Linked DNA regions of Homo sapiens: regions 2 and 3 are each linked to region 1. Evidence: promoter capture Hi-C in human tissues and cell types (Jung and others, 2019). All regions are on one chromosome and are shown on one strand. The core of a region is centred on a gene start or on the middle of the fragment in contact, and the rest is flanking DNA. Distances in the headings are between cores, read along the strand shown. Region 1 holds the start of FAM110B (family with sequence similarity 110 member B). Region 2 overlaps LOC105375855 (a long non-coding RNA gene). Region 3 has its middle 10 kb from the start of SDCBP.

Region 1 (4,396 bases), core at 434-2,933:
TACATTCCTGATTTTCAAAGCATCGATCATAGGGGAATCTTTTATGATTTTATAAGTGAGTCTTCTGGAAAGAAACTTAACTCAAAATGGCATAAGCAAGAAAGACAATTTATTGGTGCATTACTTCAGAAGTTCAGGATTTGACTGGTTTTAGAGGTGACTGTCTTCGGATGGCCATTGATGTCATCAGGGCACTTTTCTGTCTCCATTGCTCAGTTTGGCTTTTTTTCTGGTTTTGTTTTATTCTCCAGTAAGTTGACTCCAGCTGCTGCACGCATATATGATATGGTCCCAGGAGCTGCCCTGTCAGTCAGGGAAAGGACCCTCCTCCTTTGTTCTCAGACGATATTCTAATTGGCTGGCCTGGGTCATATCCCTCACAATGTCAGGAAGCTCTGTGGGCTAGTCACACCCAATGGGAGGGGGAAATTCCTAAAAGGAAGGGATTGGGGCAAAGAAGTGGGGAAAAAAAGTATACTTGAGAGGGAGAGAAGTTGGTTCCATTTGCTATGGGAATGATGAAAAATAGTTTATTTCTATTGTTATATGACTTTTGGAGTTAATGGAGACCACAACGTAATCTGTGATAACAAGGAATGTATTAGTATGCCAAAGGAAAGTTCCATTTAAATCCCAGTATCATGTCACTTTCTTAAAATGGTAATCTTTAAATAGAAAAAAAATATATTATTATAAAGTCTGAGTTTTATTTAGTTGGCAACTTCTTAACTATTATGAAACAATAGATTCATTGAATTGAAGCACAATTCAAATATAAACGATCTTTCTGAGAAAATGAGATGAGTGAAATCGTATTGTTAATGTACCAGAGATTAAAAAGAAATCCTTGCTCAATATTTTCTAGAAGAAACAATTATTTTGTGAGTCCATATCCCATTCAAATTCATTTTGATAAAGATGGATTTTATCTTTTAGACTTCCCAATAGCAAAATTAAATTACAATGTGTTTAGTCTTCCTAAAACAAATCCTCTCCTGAAACAACCAAGTTATTAAGCAAATCTAAGCAGAAAGTATTCTCAAATACTATATTAGGCGATTAATAATGACGCACCCCAAAGCATTTCATTTTAAAACATCAGCTGGCCCACATTTCAGAGGTAGTACATCATGCTTGATATTTTTCGTTATTTACTATTTTCTCCAAACATTTTTTTGAAGTCTTAAAAATGCCTTCAGAAATTAAGCTAGGACGCTCCATCTGAGTATATGAAAGTTAGTAAACAGAAAATGTCAAGCACCAAGACGTTTGGATGGCTGGACTACCAGGTGGGGTTATCTCATTCAGGGCACAGGCTCTACGTCTCCAGTGCTGAGCGATCTGCACTGGGGTGGCAGTCCGAGATCCAGCGGTATCACCGGGTGGGAGCAGGGTGGGGGTGCTTGCGTGCGGACATAGGTGGGAGTGGGGGATAGGGAGGAAATGGAGGCGCCGACCGAGTGGAATGGGGGGTGGGTCAGGGATGGGGTGGGATGGGCATCAGTAGCGGGGTGGAGATGTTGAGAGAGAGGCAGGGCTTGGAGTGGAGGTGCGAGAAGGGTGGGGACCCGGAAGGTGGGGTGGGGGCGGGATGGAGGCGGGGCGGGGTGTACGAGGGGCGTGTACACTGGCTCAGGGACACGCGCTCTCGGCCACAGCAACTGGCTCCAAGTTCCCTCCCTCACTCTCCGGCGAAGCCTGCCTGAGCCCTCCCACTCGGTGCAGACCGAACCATCGCGGCCGCCGCCAGCCGGGCCCTTCGCGGCCGCGCGTCCTGGGCCCGTTCCGCCAGCCCCGTCTGCTCTCTACCCGCGGCCCCGCGGCGGCGACCGTGAACACTCGGCGGCCCCTACAGCCCGCTCTCGGCCCTTCGTCCCTCGCGGGCCCCGACTCTCCCTCCTTGCAGTCCCCCGGAGCCTGGCTCCCGGCTCGGGCCGCACCGCCAGGGACTGGGGTGAGCGGCCCAGGTAAGACTGGGCCGTGGGGGCCGGGAGAGAGACTGCTGGGCGGGGGTTGGGATTCGGGTTCAGTGGTCGCGCCGCGCCCCGACTGCGGACAATGCGGGAGCTGCGCGCGGCCAGGCGGCGCGGAGCTAAGCCGGCTCTGCGCCTGCAGCTTCCCCGCCCGGCCCGGGTCTCCGTTGAGCCCGGCCTCACTGGCCCAGGCGGACCCCGTCCGGCTTTCTGGGCTGCCGGGGGAGGCGCAGCGCCGCTGCCTGCCCCGCGCCCCCTCTGCGCTCGGCTTGGCTGCACGTCCCGGGCTCGGCTAGGAGGCTGGGCACGGGGCCGGGGCTGGAGCCGGGGTTGGAGCCAGGGCGGGGGGAAGCTGGCCGCGCTGCGGAGCGGAGGTGGGCTCCGAAAGCGCGCCGCCGGTTGCTGCTGGAGGAGTGGGACTACGAAGGATGGGGACTCCGCTCGGCCACCGCTCCTGAATGGTCTCTAATCTCGGTGTTAAATACTTTATGAGAGTATCAATACCACCTAATCCTTTGCTGAGAATTACTGCTAGAAATGTAGATTCTGAGGTTCCGAAAGTTTGTTTTTGGTTACCCCCTCCAGCTCCTCCCGTGGCCTCAATTGTCTCTATTTTCTTTGAAAGCATACAGATTTGAAATAGAATTAAATTCTCCTTGGCTCACTCGTGTCTCCATCACCCAGCGGAGCTCATAACTTGGCAACAAAGCCCATACAGGCTGTGGGAAGCCGCGATGCCTGCTGCCCAGCCTGGTGCCCTCCTATTGTTTAGAGCTGGAGCTGTACAGTGTAAATGGCAGTGACAGGTCTCCCTTAAGCTGGCTCGTGGGGAAGGAAGGGAGATAACTTTGCAGTGTGCTTAAATTACTCTGGAAAGTGGAAAGAAAACACCTGGTGCTCAGCTTTTTAACCCTTTCAAGTTGTTATTCAGATTTATTGACACACACACACAGAAAAGTGCAGGCTTTCTTTCCTGCCTAAAAAATAGGCAACCTCTGTGTTCTTCCTCACAGCCAACTTATGTCCTCTGCAAAATCTGGCACACATCTGTGACAACATTGCACTTCTGGCGTAACTGGTCTATTTCTCAAAAGGGAATATGATAGTAGAATAAGCATTTTTGCAGTATGGATAGTAGGACTTCCATTTTCTTCGTTTCCTTTGTTGGTGAAGAAGGTATTTATTATTTTCCCCCCAGTTTACACGTAGTGATTTCTGGGAAGATACTTGTATTAATTTCTTGTACTCATTTTTGTGACATCACAACCCCTGGTCATTCAGGTAAGCTATTTATTAAGCATAGTTATTCTAGAATAAAGGTGAGTTAATGGTAAACTAGAATCCTTCACTGATAACATCCCATTGGTTTACCCTACGGTATTTAATCTGTAGTATTACTATAGATTGTACATGTAAAGTCACTAATTGAACAGAGAGGTGGTTGGTGCCTTGTTAGCCTGACATAAAGTGCTTAGAACAGTGCCTTGCATATAGTTCTAGGTGTCAGCTAATATTACTTTTAATTTTTCTTATCAAGCTATGTGTTATTTTCTGTTTGGAAAATGGTCGTTTTGATTTTTAAAATTCTGATCTGTTAGGTCATGATCTATTTTAAGTCTGTGGTTTTAATTTTAGATCAGGGCTGAGGTTGGGTTGTTATTATGCCTATGACTGACAGGCTTCTCTGCGTATCCTTATGCATGGTGAGGGTTGATTTAATTCATCTTATATATTGGATCTCTAAGGGCAAGACATCAGTCTTGAACCCAGTCATGCCCTGGTGCCTTTCATAAGGAGACCTGGTTGTCTTTAAGAGCCTAATTGTTTAAAGAGAGGCCTCCACATTAGGGAAGACCTGGGCTCTGAACCCCATTCCTTACCTCCCCTGCACTCCCTTGTTCTCTAGGTTTAGAATCCCACTTCCAATTCCCAATGGAAAGAACCGTTGGTACAGCAGAGTTAAGTAACTCTCACAGTGTTAAAAGATGATAAAAGATAAATATGTCTACTGTATATACAACAACCAGAGCATTTAATTCTTTTTCATGCTTTAAAATATTTTAGAGCAGGATTTATAGCCTAACTAGCTAAGATAAGAAAACTCACTTATTTAAAACTACTTATTTGCCATGTGTTAGTAACCAAAGATTGTGTTTCCTATTTAGATATTTTAAATGATTGTCAGGAGTTTACTCTTATTTCATGTTCTCCTTTCCCCTTTAACTTTGAAGTGACTTTTTAAAAAATCGTGATTCCTAAATAACTTAGCTAAGCGAAGGCATGGTATTAACTCTTAGGGCCCTGCAGAAGCAAAACTGCTGTAGGCACAGTGGCTTGGCAGTAGATGGTGCTGTGGACAAGGCTGGTGGAGGAGGCATATGTATGGTCTAGTAGAATCCCAGGGATTAATTTAGCAATCCCAT
Region 2 (4,414 bases), core at 1,300-3,799, 520 kb before region 1:
ACCAAGTAAGTCTAAAACCCAACAAGGCAAACAACATTAAATCTTAAGTTTTGAGAATAATCTTGACTTCCATGTCCTGCCTTCTGACACACTGAAGTAGGGGTTCAGCTTCCAAGACCTTAAGCATCCTCATTCCCATGGCTTTGCTGCGTGCAGCCCATGCTTCAATTCTCACACACTGAGGGTGCTTGCCTGTAGTGTTTCCAGACTGGAGTGGCATACTGATGGCTCCACATTTCTGGGGTCTCAGGAGCAGCCCCACTCTCATGGTTCCACTAGGCATTGCCCTAGTGAGGACTTGCTATGATGGCACCAGCCCCACAGTTCCACTGGGCATTGCCCTAATGAGGCTATCTGTGGTGACTCTGCCTCTGCAACAAGTCTCTGCCTGGGTTCCAAGGCTGTCTGCAACATCTTTGGAAATCTAGGTGGAGGAAGCTATATCTTCATAGCTCTTGTACTCTGCTGTAGAATTAACACCACATGGATGCTCCCAAAATTCAGTGAACTTGGCCCTGTTTGAGCCACAGCTGGGTGGCCAAGATACACTATTCTAGAATGTGAGGAGCAGAGACCTGAGGCGACCCTAGGCAGAGAGCCCTGTGTTCTCATACGTACCTTGCACCCACCTCTTTAAGATTTTCTGTCCTCAAGGATCTGACAGTCTGGACCTGTGATCAAAGGGCCAGCCTCAAAGGTCTTTGAAACATCTTCAGTGTCATTGCCTCATTTTCTTAATGAATAGCCACATGGCTTGTTTCTATCTGTAATAATCTCCTTATGGCCACATTCTTGGCTTTCTCTCCTATACATATTTATTGTTTACACAGCTAGGCTGATAATTTTTCACAGCTTTACATTTTTCTTCCCTTTTAGTTATAAATTCTGTCTCTAAATTATTTCTTTCTTCTTGCATTTTACCACAAACCATCAAAAGAAGCCACATCACAGCCTGAATGCTTTGCTGCTTAGACATTTCTTCTGCCAAAACTAGTTCATCCTCGTAAGATTTTCCTTCCATAAATTTTCTAGGACACAACATAATTTAGCCAAGTTCTTTGCCACTTTGTAAAAAGGTTGGCCTTTCCTCTAGTTTCCCATACCTTGTTCCACATTTCCATGTGGAACAAGGCCTCATCAGAATGGCCTTTAATGTTTACACATGTAACAATGTTCTGTTCATGGCATTACAAGCTATTTCCATCATTCACTTCAAAACTGTTTGAGCTTCTACCCATTACCCAGTTTCAGAACCACTTCCGCATCTTTAAGTATCTGTTATAGAAATACCCCTTTTCTCTGGTACCAATTTCTGCCTTAGTTTGTTTGCACTGCTTTAACAGAATACCACCGAATGGGTAACTTATAAAGAACAGAAATGTGTTTCTCACGATTCTAGAGGTTGGGAAGTCCAAGATAAAGGGGCCATCATTTGGTCTGGTAAGTACCTTCTTACTGTGTCGTCACATGGAATAAGGTGAAAAGTCAGGCTTGTAAGCTAGCTTAAAGCTGTGTGAAGGCTCTTTTATAAGGACCTTAATCCCATTAACAAAAGAAAAGCCTTCATGGCCTAATCACCTCTTAAAGGCTCCTCCACCTTTAACATCATTACATTGGCCTCACCTGCATTTTAGAGGCAATTAGGTTTCAACCTGAATTTTGTAAGGACAAAAACACTCAAACCATTGAACTATTGTGTGTGTGTGTGTGTGTGTGTATATATATATATATATATATATATATATATATACACACACATACATATTAGAATTTATTTACCTATTCATCAGTTAATGGACATTTGTATTGCTTCTAATTTAGGACTATGATAAATGGTGCTTCTATGAACATGCATGTACATGTATTTGTTTGAGTGCCTGTTTTCATTTCTTTTAGGTATACACCTAGCAGTGGAAACCTAGGTCATATGGTAATTTAATGTGTAACCTTTTGAGGAATGGCCAAAATATTTTCCATGGCAATTGAACCATTTTACATTTCCACCAGTGATGTACAAGTATTCCAGTTTTTCTACATTTTCAATATTTGTTATTTTTCACTTTTTTTGGTAAAAATAAGGCCATTCTAGTGGATGTGAAGTGATATTTCATTGTCATTTTGATTTATATTTTCCTAAAGTCTAATGATGCTAAGCATTTTTTCATGTACTTGTTGGCCTTTTATATATCTTCTTTGAAGAAATGTCTATTTGAGTCTTTGTTCATTTTTAAATTGAGCTTGATAGACTTTGTTATTGAATTGAAAAGTTCCTTTCTGGATATTAGGCTCTTATTAGATATGATTTACATTTTTTTCCATTCTGTATGTTATCTTTTTACCTTCTTAATAATGTCCTTTGATGCAAGAAAGTATTAATTTTGATGAAGCCCAATTTATTTACTTATTATTTTCTTGCTTGTGCTTTTTATGCCATTTGTAAGAATTTGTGGTCAAAATAAGATCATAGAGATGTGCTCTGTATTCTTCTACAAGATTTATAGTTTTAGCTCTCATATTTATGTCACTGATCCATTTCTGGTCAATTTTTTTATATGATGTATGTGAGTCCAACTTCATTATTTCACATGAGAATGACCGTTTGTTTTAGTGTCATGTGTTGAAGATATTATTCTTTCCCCTATTGAAGAGTCTTTTCACCCTTGTCAAAATTAAATTGACCATAGATGTATGAATCTCTTTATGGCTTCTCAATTCCATTTCATTCATTTGTATGACTATTCTCATGTTGGTACCACATTCTCTTGATTGCTGTAACTTTATAGTAAGTATTGAAAATGAGAAGTGTGAGACTTCCAAATTGGCTGTTCTTTTTCAATATCATTTTTATTATTCTGGGCCCCTTACATTCCATATGAATTTGAGGATCACCTTTTTTCATATCTGCAAAAAGACCATTAAAATATAATATGAAATGTATTACATCGTTTTAAAATTGTGGATATTATTGCCATCTTAACAATATTAAATTTTCTAGTTCATAAATATATGTGTCTTTCCATTTATTTAGGTTTTATTTAATTTCTTTTAGCAATGTTTCATAATTTTCAATGTACAAATCTTTAATCTTTTTAGTTAAACACACACCTAAGTATTTTATTCCTTCGAATGCTGTTGTAAATAAAATTATTTTCTTAATTTCTCCTTTATCATGTTTATTGCTGTTGTTTAAAAATACAACAGATCTTTGTGTGTTGAGCTTATATTCTGCTATTTTACTGAATTTGTTTATTCATTTGAATCTTTTGTTTGGTGAATTTTTGGGGATTTTCTATATTGAGAGTCATGTCATGTGAATAGAGATAGTTTCATTTCTTCTTTTACAATTTGAATGACTTTTATTTATTTTTCTTGTCTAGTTGCTTTGGGTAGAACTTTCAGTAAGATGTTGAATATTGGTACTTAAACTAGGCATCCTTGTCTTGCTCCTGATTTTAAGGAGAAAGCTTTCAATTTTTTTTACCATTGAAATTGATGTTAGCTGTGGGTTTTTCATAAATGTCTTTTTATCATGAAAGAATGTTAGATTTTCTCAAATGCTTTTTCTGTATCAATCAAGATAGTCATGTGGCTTTTCCCCTTATTCTATTAATGTGATATATTACATTAATTGATATTCTTACCTTGCATTTCTAGGTAAACCTCACTTGGTCATAGTGTTTAATGTATTGTTAGATTCGGTCTCATAATTTATTGTGGATTTTTATGTCAAGATTCATAAGGAAGATTAGTCTGTAGTTTTGTGGCTTCTTGTGATTTGTTTTGTATTTAGTATCAGGCTAATGTTGACCTCATAAAATTAGTTAGAAATTTTTCCCTTTTCTACATTTTGGAAAAGTTTGAGAAGGGTTGGTATCAATTCTTCTTTAAATGTTTGGTGAATTTTACCAGTGAGTGTATCTGGTTCTGTACTAAAATTTGTTTAAGTACAAATTTAATTTTGTCAGAAAGTTGTTTAAAATACTCTTAATATATTCTTGATATCTAAAAAAGTAATCCTTCATATTTTTCTGCATTAAACTTTGAGGGCTAGCTAATCATTTTAAACCATCAGCTCAAATCTTTTTTTTTTTTTCACATTTCATCTTTCCTTCTAAGGGAGGGAGGGGGTCAAGGTTCAGATTCTTTATTCACATTTGTAATTTATTTATTCCTTCAGGATAAGCAGTCATCTTTATTAATTGTGTACTTGGTTTAATTGGACTTAACTTTATAATTCCTTGGGCTTTTGCTACTCAGTATTATTAAACTTCACCATGTATATGCATCATACAGAACTACTAACCATAGTGCACAGTTCTCTGACATTGCTAGCTCTTTTCAATTTGAATGGAAAGAGAATTGTACAAATATAACTCATTTTATTGTGATTTGCTTTATTGCACTTATCAGGTAC
Region 3 (4,730 bases), core at 2,028-4,527, 550 kb after region 1:
CTTTGGGGCAGAGAATGCTGATTGGCTCATAATATTCATTCTTTCTTTTTGTTTAGTAACAGAACCCTAAAAAAATGTGCTTGGATAAAAGATGATATTTCTTAGCCCCTTTTGCAGCTATATATGGCCAGTGAGATATATGTGTTCTGAAGCTTCTGGGAAGCCTTCATAAAAGGAGAAAGCCTGTGGCCTGTGGCCCATCTGCTCTTCCTCCTTTCTGCTGTCTGGAACATAGATGTGACGGTTGGAGCAAAACAGGAATTTTTACATCGCAAGATGATTTTATGTCTAGATTTCCTTTATGTGAGAGCAATTAATGTCTATCTTGTTTAAGTGACTTTATTTTAGGTTTCTGTGTACACCTGAACATCATCCTAATTAAATCAAACAACGTTTCCCTTGAGCATAGAGAAAAATAAAAAAAGGAATCATGGAGAGTGGAAGCAGAGGAATCAGGAAACATTAAAAAAAATGCAATCCAAAATCTAGGGGTGGTGTATTCCCTAAAGTATTTCAAAGAACAAAACATCCAGTTTGTTCTGCTACCACATATGTTTTGGTAATGTGAATTAGCTCATACAAAACTGGTAAATGGGAGAGTGATATTTATCTAATAATGTTGAAATTGTTTTGGTTGATATGCATGTATCCCAGTATGTGATTTCCAAGAAATCAGGGGGGAAACTTTCTAAACAATTAAAAAGCAAGCCTTAGCAATATGCAAACACCTTAAGGAAAAAACTTCTACAGTGGCACCTTTCTTTATTGAAACAAAGGCTGGGTTAGTGGTTTCAGGAACTGCTATGTATTTCATGATATTAAGCTATCTGGTGAAGTGTGAAGACAGATAAAGAAGCTGCAAAAAGAAAAAAAGATGTTTGTTTGAAAACATTAGGAAGGCCCCTGAAGCAAATTTTTAACACTGATAAAACTGGCATTTTGAAAGTAAATACCCCTACATCTCAAAAGAGCAAGCCCCTGAGTTTAAAAGCTACTCAGGGTAGGCTGCTAGTGGAGATTGACTGAGCCAGTATTTTATAAATAGAGGCTTATTGTTTTTGTTGGTGTTCTTGTTATAAAATTGGGTGGTATGGTCTGTCCATAGCCCTATTTGTGCCATATGCCCAGTTATTTCCAGTGTATGCTTTTGTAGAATGCAAAGCTGGGTGTGAATGCACATGTGGTTTTACAAAGACATGGCTGTATGTAAGAAAGCAAGAAGACTGGCTTCAGAGCAAACTATAACTGATACTCTTTTTTCACATCTTAACATCAATTCTTCAGTCAGGGTTGGCTTTTTAACCTGCTTCCATCCATAATTTTATTTAACAACTAGAATCAAATCTTGAAAAATGCAATGCCTTAAGCATTTTACCTTTCATGCTTCCTTTCTCAGAAAGTCACTAGAGGACATGCTCATCCAAAATGAGGCAGTGAACAAGGGACCGCAGGAATCAGGGACTCAGCATAGGAGAGCGTGGAATAAAGACCAAGATGATGGTGAACTAAGTCCCAGGAAAATAGCTGTGTGGACAACTGAAGCACAAACTGCTCAGACTGGGCTCTGGAAAGGGAGCTTCTGGGGGCGACTAGAACTGAGGGACTATCTGATATTTAAAAAGTAATGTCTAAAGGTGTTTTTCACAGATATATTGGGAATGCCAAGAAGAATTAGCTGTGAAAATATGGAGAGCTGATGGTACTTTTATTTCCCACTAGGTAGAATGGATCATGTGTCCTAGGTTGGCTCTTTGGGTTTAAGCAAAAATGGATGTCATCCTGTTACTTTTCAAAAGTCCTGGCCAGGCACGGTGGCTCACGCCGGTAATCCCAACACTTTGGGCGGCCGAGGCGGGTGGATCACCTGAGTTTGGGAATTCAAGATCAGCCTAGCCAACGTGGTGAAACCCCGTATCTACTAAAAATACAAAAATTAGCTGGGCGTGGTATTCGGCACCTGTAATTCCATCTACTCAGGAGGCTGAGGTACGAGAATTGCTTGAACCTGGGAGGTGGAGGTTGCAGTGAGCCAAGATTGCATCACTGCACTCCAGCCTGGGGGATGGAGCAAGACTCAGTCTCAAAATAGTAATAATAATAATAACAAAAGTCCCAGTAAAAACCCGGTAGTTTTAATAGATTTACTTGCAGTAAACACATGGAACACCATCCTGCTTTTGTGCCAGTGGCCTCACTCCAGGGGGTTGTTCTATCTCCCCAAAGCATGGTCAGGAAGCCTTATTGCTGCACCTCCCTCACAGGTGCAAAACACAGTAAGAGCGCTATGATTTTGATTGTGCATGTGGCTCTTCTCAAGTTGTGTGTCCTCTATGCAAACCTTTGGTTTTACACAATGACAAAACACTTATTTCTCCTAATTCCTTATGCCCAACTTAGATCTTGATCCTGAAAAATTCTCCTGCTCATTTGATACACCTTGTATGCAGATGTTAGGTTTATTGGTGAGCAGGCTTCTCTTGTCAAGGTTGGGACTTCATAGGGGCAATCATTGATGGGGTTAATCCTCAGAGAGGAAACTAGAACTAAAATATGTGCAGGATGAGATAGGGAAATCCCATCCGTTTCTGGCCTCGTTTTATTGCCTTTAATTGAAAGCTGCCTCTTACCTCATGGTTTTGAGTTACTTCATTGTGTAATCTTTTTGAAGGCATGAATTTCAGCAAAAATTAGGAATCCCTCGTTTATGTTAGAAATTTCACTGTTGAGCACTATAAATGCAAACAATGGAACTGAGGTGACAATCTGCTGAAGGGATACCTTTGGAGTCTGGCTGAAGGTCGCATGTGGGTGGGTGAAGGAAACAGTCTCAACTTGCTTTTCGGCCCGACAGTGGGAATATTCTTTTGACATTGATAATTTCAGACATCTTAAGTTCTGAATTGTTAAAATGGTTTTTAAAAATGTTGCTCTTAGAAACAAGAAAATACGGTAATTCTAGAAGCAACCCTTTTCAGTTCCTCAGGCACTGTGCCAGGCATCAAAGACCATTTAAAGTATAGCCCCAGCCCTCAAGAAGTTCTGGTCAGAGGAAAGAATGATTGATACCAAAGAAACCACAGGGAAGAAAAGTGAAAAAAAGATCACTTCTGATTCCATGTAAAATTATACAGTTACGAACTATATTAATAGCTGAAGGATAAGGCTGATATCCAAAAGTCAAATAAATTTAATTCCTAATTATCCACATACAAGAAACTAAATGAATGAAAGAAGCAATAGTAATTTTCCATATAAATATAGTTGAGAAATTATGCATTACCCTGGCCGCACAAATACAACTGCTATAGTTGACTCTGAACATCTGGAACACTTCTGGATGTGTAACTTGGAACCGAGGATATGGCATTCTTTTTAAGGGTGTGTGTATTCACAACTTAGGGAAGAATCCCAAATTGAATTCCATAGTTAAAAGCAAAAACAAGTTTTAACACACTGAAAGAGTACACTCCTGTCTGGTTGAGAGAGATCAGCCAATAAATGATGGATCCCCGGGCAGCTCAAATGCCAGTGTGGCACGTTTCCTATGGAATGTGGAGGCATTCAGAGACTTAAATGATTTTACTCTCTCAACAGAATCCAGATGCTCTTAAATATTACAGATATTATTATAAATTAAACAATATAAGTAGCCAGAAAATATTGTAGTTAGGGTTTCTATAAAAATTGTTTTGAACACTGATGTAGAAAGAGCTGTATCCTTTTTCCCAACATGGCTATTTCAAACTTGTGATAGTATATTCTTGTATATTATTGATCACCTCTTTATATTTTCTGTTATAAACATCCTATAAAGTATGCTAATATATTTGTTAATTTCTCTCCACATAAATATTCATAATGTCCTGTCCAAGAAAGTAGAAAATGGGACCTTGAAATAAAACAAATGACCCAGTCAACAACTAAATCTCCTTTAAAAAAAAAAGTCACAAGTCAATTTACCTTTGCTTTAATGGTTTTTGGTAGCCCCATAAAATGGTCTTATTTTGTGAAGGGGAGACATTTCTAAATATGTAAAATTTGTTTTAATTCTTTAGGAAAGCAGAATTCAACACATCTTTGAAAGAAAATCCAAATGCTGTATTATAAGTTAATTTAACTTATATTTACAAGTTAGGTTTAACTTATTGGTATGTCAACCAACAATATTTTTACCACCTGTAAAAGGTATGGGCCATGAATGTGATAGAATCTTTACTACAAATAATTTCTTCACTATGGCAAAATATTCGATGATGGAAGAACTTTAAGAAAAGCTTTACAGGCCAGGTGCAGGGGCTCACGTCTGTATTCCCAACATTTTGAGAGGCCGAGGTGGGCGGATCACGAGGTCAAGAGTTCGAGACCAGCCTGACCAACATGGTGAAACCCTGTCTCTACTAAAAATACAAAAATTAGCTGGGCATGGTGGTGTGCACCTGTAATCTCAGCTACTCAGGAGGCTGAGGCAGGAGAATTGCTTGAACCCAGGAGGCGGAGGTTGCAGTGAGCCGCGATAGCACCACTGCATTCTAGCCTGGGCAACAGAGCAAGACTCAGTCTCAAAAAGAAAGAAAAAAAAAAGCTTTGTAGAATTATAACTACCTGGAGAAATGTTCAATTTAGCAATAGAGGCCGGGCACGGTGGCTCACGCCTGTAATCCCAGCACTTTGGGAGGCTGAGGCGGGCGGATCACGAGGTCAGGAGATCGAGACTATCCTGCCCAACACGG

Evidence for each region. The method cuts DNA at HindIII sites, captures the fragments that hold promoters and counts their contacts. A contact is called where the count stands out against the background at its distance.
Region 2: a contact is called between a fragment that was not itself captured here and the fragment with the promoter of FAM110B in region 1, in 1 of the 25 tissues and cell types used here (mesenchymal stem cells).
Region 3: a contact is called between a fragment that was not itself captured here and the fragment with the promoter of FAM110B in region 1, in 1 of the 25 tissues and cell types used here (lymphoblastoid cells).

What each region holds. Positions count from the first base shown.
Region 1 is chr8:57,992,840-57,997,235 of GRCh38, forward strand. It overlaps FAM110B (family with sequence similarity 110 member B), which reads left to right and starts at 1,684. Exons shown (of 4, transcript NM_001377989.1): 1 at 1,684-1,967. RefSeq lists silencers at 2,011-2,060, 2,081-2,130 and an enhancer at 2,135-2,635. The HindIII fragment of the contact is 16,250 bases long and covers 1-4,396 here.
Region 2 is chr8:57,473,395-57,477,808 of GRCh38, forward strand. All of the region lies in intron 1 of LOC105375855 (a long non-coding RNA gene), which reads left to right. Among named protein-coding and RNA genes, the nearest start is that of LINC00588, 200 kb to the left of the region's middle. The HindIII fragment of the contact is 6,465 bases long and covers 1-4,414 here.
Region 3 is chr8:58,540,538-58,545,267 of GRCh38, forward strand. No RefSeq gene overlaps it. Among named protein-coding and RNA genes, the nearest start is that of SDCBP, 10 kb to the right of the region's middle. The HindIII fragment of the contact is 6,579 bases long and covers 1-4,730 here.